Regions from separate parts of the Homo sapiens genome. Here region 1 is linked to region 2. Evidence: promoter capture Hi-C in 16 types of primary human blood cells and fetal thymus (Javierre and others, 2016). All regions are on one chromosome and are shown on one strand. The core of a region is centred on a gene start or on the middle of the fragment in contact, and the rest is flanking DNA. Distances in the headings are between cores, read along the strand shown. Region 1 has its middle 38 kb from the start of KCNIP1-OT1. Region 2 holds the start of LCP2 (lymphocyte cytosolic protein 2).

Evidence for each region. Contacts are between HindIII fragments. The CHiCAGO score rates a contact against its expected background, and 5 or more counts as called.
Region 1: a contact is called between a fragment that was not itself captured here and the fragment with the promoter of LCP2 in region 2, in 2 of 17 cell types (monocytes and M0 macrophages). The highest score is 7.4, in monocytes.

Annotation. Positions count from the first base shown.
Region 1 is chr5:170,425,598-170,428,893 of GRCh38, forward strand. It overlaps a transcript of KCNIP1 not described here. Among named protein-coding and RNA genes, the nearest start is that of KCNIP1-OT1, 38 kb to the left of the region's middle. The HindIII fragment of the contact is 3,703 bases long and covers 11-3,296 here.
Region 2 is chr5:170,296,231-170,299,444 of GRCh38, forward strand. It overlaps LCP2 (lymphocyte cytosolic protein 2), which reads right to left and starts at 1,547. Exons shown (of 21, transcript NM_005565.5): 1 at 1,304-1,547. The coding sequence starts at 1,381. RefSeq lists an enhancer at 650-729. The HindIII fragment of the contact is 7,744 bases long and covers 376-3,214 here.

The DNA.
Region 1 (3,296 bases), core at 612-3,111, 130 kb after region 2:
TTGCCACCAAAGCTTCTGACACCCCATTTTGGCTGGAGAGAGACTTGGGCACAGTTCTTGAATTGGCTGCAACTCCACCCTCCCTCCTGCAAGTGCCTCTTCCTCTGCCACGGAAGCCTCTGTGCCATGAAGAAGACCACCAGACCTCTCCAGGTGAGGGCTCTGGGTGTCAGTCCCCTACGCCCTAGCAAGATCTGGAAGGCAGGAGCCACCTTCCTGCAGGCAGGCAAGGTCCTGGAAATATAAGGTTGTCTGTGGCCATTGACCATCCTACTGCTTCCTGGTGACAGAAAATGTTGCATTGGTGGCAGCCATGGGGACAGCTTCCTGGTTCCTGAATTGCAGCACTGGTCCGTGGCATGCTCTAGGACTCAGGCATTTTCTCAGCAGCTTTTGAGGTAGTGGCCCCGGGCAGGTCAGTTTGGCAGTGTGCTGGGGATTATTCCTGGAGGCCCAGCCTGGTGGCCGCTTCTCCAGCCCTTCCAGTGATTTGGAAGCGGCTGGTTCCTTGCAGTAAGTCCCTTCTTCCTCGAACCACTGACTGATGCAGAGCTCCTCCATGGTAGGGACTGGTTCTCTTAGGCCCCTGTATCCTCAGGCCCAGCATGCTTGGGAAAATGTTTGCTAATGCTTTGTGACTCAAAAGGAATCACACACACACACACACACACACACAAACACACACACACAGTTTTTAATATTATCAGTCATATCAGCCCCCTGAGGCAGCTGCTCTGTTCCAGACAAACCCTGTTAATAACATTCTTATCCTCTTTGTTTCATTTTCCAGCTCAATTTGGAAGCCTGACCTTGTCTTGCTTTGCCTCCTACTGAGAGTTAATACTGGGACATACTGAAGGGCGAAGGCTTGAGTCACAAAGTCACAGGGATAAATCCTAGATCCAGCAGTTACTGTCTACATGACACTAAGCAGATTAGTTGCCACTGGGACTCAGTTTTACCAGTCTGCAAAATGGAGCTATCAGCCGCATCTAGCACTAGGGGCGCTGTGAGCATGGAGGGCAGTCTGCACACAGAGGCTTAACACAGTGCCTGAGCTTGCAGGTGCTTGGTAAATGGCAATTGCTGTCAGCATTGTCTGATTTACCTGAAGGAACAGTTCACACTCCACCCAGATTTTCACTGCAGCAGCCAAGAAAGAACTTCTGGGAAAGCATCTGCTTCCACCCAACTCCCAAGAGGGGTTCGTAGAGGGTGGAGCTGAGAGCCCGCCTCCCCTACCAGCCTGCAGAAAGAAAGCCATGTTTTGGCCTCAGGGAGGAGAAACCCAGATAAAAACCACCCCATGTGCAGCCTTTGCGTGGCCACAGGACCAGCTCCACAGGGAGAGGGAAGAGGCGCGGCCGCAGGACCAGCTCCACAGGGAGAGGGAAGAGGCCTCCTTTCAGGGGTGGGGAGCTGAGGGCAAGACAGACCTTTTCTGACTCAGCCCAAGGAGGGCTGGAGCAGGGGCTGCAGGTTCCCTGCTTTCTGCTACAACACAGGGTAGGGGAGAGTCATGGCCTCCCAGAGCCTCTGCAGGTTCACCTGCCAAATGGAAATAATAGCATCCTCCTCTGCAAGTCACAGCCTTAAAGAGGTGCTGAGAGTCACTAGTTAGACCCAAGCCAGCTGTTTCTGGTGCATTAGGACTATCGACCAGAACCCCTGCATTCCCAGCCCCTCCTGCGGCCTCCAACGACCAGGAGAGAAAGGCGTAAGGTGTAAGACTCTGGGCCAGGTTCTGGCAGCTTATGGCCACTCTTTTCTTGTGTCTGGACAGGAGCATTATAGCTACAACCATCTCATCTAATCCTCACTGCTGCCCTATGAGGCGGGCATTCTTATTTCCCCAGTTTTGAGATAGGCACAGAAAGGGGAAGCGACTTCCCAGGTTCACATTGCCAGTAAGTGGTAGGACTAGGCCCTGAAAAGCACAGCCTGCCATGGGGAAGAGAATTCATCCCCAGCTGAGAACCACTGTATCCTCACCCAGGGGTTCCCAGCCAATGCAAACAGGGACGTGACCAGTCTCCACTGGTCCCCTGTACCAGGTCTCCACCTTGCCGGCCTGCTGCTGGGCCCCAGGACTGCTCCCAGGCTGCACCTGTGGGGTCTGCCACCTCCTCCACTTCCTTTTGAGAAGCTGCTCCCACCCCTTCGCCTTCATCTCAAAGGAAAGTGTGCTGCCAGGCAGCTGGAGCCAGATGGCCCAGAGACAACTCTTCCCATCACACTTCCTGCAGCATCTGAGTCCAACCCCCAACTCCAGAGCTGGCAAGCTGCCCAGAGCCTCCCAGAGGAGGCCTATGGGTTAACTTCACATTTAGTATTTTCAGCATATGGTAGAAAGAAAATAGTGTTGTTAGATGTACAAGTGTGATTTCCCCTTTCCAGAATGCCTTCCTCTCTCCTCCACGTGGTGAGCTCCTATTCATACTTCAAAACCATGCTCAACTATTCCCTGCCCACCTGTTTCCTTCCACTCCTCCCCTTCTAATGTGGGTGTGTCCCAGGGACAACATCTGTGTTCCTCAGTGAAGTTGAGAGAAGCCTAAATTTGCTCTACATAAGAAAAAAGAATAAGGAGGTAAACTGGAAACGGGAGGAGGCTGGGAAACGCAGGGTTGGTGGAAGGACTTGTGGGGATGTCGTGGCAGCCACCTGAGGGTAAGGAACGTGACAGCCAGAGCAGCTATGCTTAAGGGGCTTTGCCACAGTGCGAAAGATAGGATACAAGGTCCTCTTCAGTCTCTCCATGAAAACCACAGTCAAAGTACACATTACTCACCCATGCTTTGGAGCTAGATTTGGGCTTAATGCTGTCTTTTTTTTTTTTTATTAAAACAATATTCCAGGCTGATGGAATTTAACAACAAGGAACATAATATCTGACACAAACATAGCCTAAGCCTTGATATTTATCATCTTATATAGCAAGAGATCAGGGTGTTGAGAACTTTAGAGCAGCTCCGTTATGTCCAGGCTCTGGGCGGTTTCTGGGATTCTGTCTGCTGTCCCATCAGTACTCACGGGGTGGCTGTGTCTGCTACAGACATCATAGCCTCACGAAACCACCTACACTAAAGCCAATAGGAAGAAAGGTGTGTGTCACCTTCACCTTCCCACCCTTTATGGGGGAGGAAAATATTTGCCAAGTGACCCACCTTTCCCTTCTCAATGCCCCTTTGATCAAAGCCTGGTTCTATGTCCCTGCCCAGCTGCGGGTGGTGCTAGGAAAGAAGGTATCTGGGGTTTGACAGTCTGCTGTGAGGGCTAAATAAAAAGGGCGTGAG
Region 2 (3,214 bases), core at 297-2,796:
AATATTTGCTGAAATCTAAGTTTATTATGACCTTGCAGAAGGAAAATAACAGAAATGAAAGCACAAAATATGGCAAAAAACAGGATCTGTGAACTGTACCCCTACCATACCACACCTAGTTCAACATGTTCTCATTTTCTTCTTCAGGTTGGGGGAGAACAGCTGTGACTATAAATGCCTCGGAAATGCATAGACCCCAGGTTTGGCTATACGTCCTAGGGAACCTCGTCTACCCTCTTGAATCTCAATTTCCCCAGGAAAAACACGAAGCTGAATTAGATGACTTCTACCATCTTAGCTTTACAATCTCATCTTTATGACAGTCTGGAATATCAACAGAATCCGATGCCAGCCTGCAGGGATGAGGGTGTTAGAAGCTTAACCGTCTCGCACAAGTCATCTTACCACATGGTCAGGGTAGAGGGACTATAACTAAGTCATGTGGCTTGAGATCTGCCCAAGCAGATGCGTTGTCCCCTTCTGCCAATGACCAAGCACAGGGATCCTTCAACCTTTCCTCTAAGTCCAGAAGATAAGACAGCAACGCTCTGGTCCCAGCACCGCCACAAGCCTCTTTTCCTCTAGGGGCCTCAGTTTTCATAGCTATAAATTGGGGCTCACATCAGTTTTCTGTCCTGCTTCACAAGACTCTCATAAGGCTCCAAGGAGACTGCCCCAGGCGGGAGCTTGAGGACCCCCCTTAGGGTCGTGAGCAGTGAAAGCCCAAATGCTGTGTCTGGCACTGCTCATCATAGTCCTCTATCCAGCCCTCCCACCCTGCCTATTCTTTCTCCTGCCTCCAGGACACCACGTCTCCCCTTTCTAGTAAGTAGCGTTGATCTCATTAGCAGTTACAACAGTTCTCTGCATCTCAGAGCATGGACTTTAAAACCAGATAGGTGTGGCTTGAGTCTTGCCTCTATCACATGTAGTCCCTAGGGCTTCGGACCATTTCACTTCCCTGAGCTGATTTTGCAGCTGAGTCAAGGGGATAACAATGCTGACCTCACAACATAGTAGGGAGCGCTAAATGGGACAGTGCCTGTGAGACACCGAATTCAAACCCTAGCACATAATAGGCACATACTCATTTGAGGGCTTCTGCTCCCATCCTTCTCTCCGGAACTCATGGTCAGGAAAACTCAGCGGTCTATATGGCGCTCACTCAACCAGTAAAGTTGCCATAGGGTTCCATTGCTATCTTATACACCTCCCACATTCTGCCCCAATTCCATCGTCAAGCCTCAGCTCAGCCCACCAAGGGCACTAGCATCATGACCATTCACACAAGAGCAAGGCTTACCTTCTTGAAATAGTCAGCAAGGCTGTCGGGGTCCCAGCCCAGGACCTCTGAGCGAAAGGGCACATTCCTCAGTGCCATGGCTGCTCTCCCGGGAAGAAGCTCACAAGCTGAGCATGGGCGCTTCACCCATGGGCAGAGAAGCTCAAATCCAGAGCTCGGAGGCGTTCTTGGCTCTTCCAACTCCCAGCTACCCTGTGGAACACCCCTGTTGGAGCCGATGTCTTTTCTGGCGTAGCCAGATCCCAGAAAGCAACGGCTTCCTCTGCGAACAAATATGGTCTCTTCTCAGAAAACGACTCAGCTAGTTTCCTTTACCACTTCCTCTGCTGGGCTCTAAATAAGTAAACAAGGAAGCCCAGCTCTGGAGGCTTGAGATGCAGAGAGAGCCACAGGGTTGGTAATTCCCCACTGGCTCCAGTCACCCCAACCCAGTAGGAGAGGCAATGAAGGGGTCTTAAACTCCAATGTGAGTCTGAGTAATTTTCCTTTAAACTCTGGGCACCCATATGTCTACACTGCATTCTTGCTCAGCTGGGGCTTTGCAGACCAAAATCTATCCTGACGGTTGACCTGAAATACAGACAATTTCCCACATCAGTGAACTGCTGGAGCATGTTTTTTTAATGCTTTCCAACCACTTTCCCCTCCCACCATCAAAGACTGGGATTCTTTCAGCTGCCTCTTTACAGTTGTCATGAGAGGGTCCTCAAGGAGTGAGTGAGTCAGGCACCCAGGGCTGAACAAGGTGCTACACTGTGCAGACAGGGCTCAGTTTCTGATATGACTATTTCTGTGCTATGCAACCTTAGGCAAGGAGTTAAAAGCTGGGAATCTCAGTTTCCAAATCTGTATAATAGGAAAACAGTGATTCTTCATATGCACATAAAACTTAGATGCATTCAACTAGACAAACCTAAAAAGAAAAATTAAAAAGAAAAAAAACTTAACAATTGCTATTGGTAGTGTCATATATTCCATTCACTATTGTTTCCACAATATATTTTATTCACTATTGATTCTGCCATATATTCTAGCCAAAGAGCACATTCCCTGGAGATAGGAGGTGAGAATTTGCTGTTTTCTTAGTTTCAGACATTGTTCATTTCTCATAACTGAACAACTTATTGGCAGAGGGTGAGTCCAGTGTATAAAAGCAACTATATTTGTGCAATAAGGCAACCTCTAAACACAAGTTACTACTTCATCTAATGCCACACACACACACACACACACACACACACACACACGAGTCATCTGTTCCAAGGCTGTTGCCTTTACTAAGTGATGCTATGTTGGTCCTTGAGGTGGTGCCTTCCTGAGGGTTTTCAAGCATAGCTTTGGCCATGCACAGTTTTCTTCTTATACACACTCTGAGGAGCCCCGCCGTCACGGTAATGCACCTGCCTCACAAGCTGGTGGGCAGCTTAAATGAAATACACATTTTGCTCCAGGCCCAGCACTAGCTCATCAATGTGAGCTGGTGTTAGCCTCACCTTAGAAGGTGCTGAGGGCATCAGTGAAGGTAGCCCAGGCCATTTGCTCCTTGCAGGGCCTCACACCTAAGAACTCTTTTCTTTTCTCTCTTTCTTTCTTTCTTTCTTTTTTTTTTTTTTTTTTTATTGAGACGGAGTTTCGCTCTTGTTGCCCGGGCTGGAGTGCAATGGTGCCATCTCGGCTCACTGCAACCTCCGCTGCCTCCCAGGTTCAAGCGATTCTCTTTCCTCAGCCTCCCGAGTAGCTGGGATTACAGGCATGCACCACCACGCCCAGCTAATTTTGTATTTTTAGTAAAGACGGGGTTTATCCCTGTTGGCCAGGCTGGCCTGGAACTCCCAACCTCAGGTGATCTGCCCGCCTAGGCCTTCCAAAGTGTTGGGATTACAGGCGTGAGCCATTGTGCCTGGGCCGCAC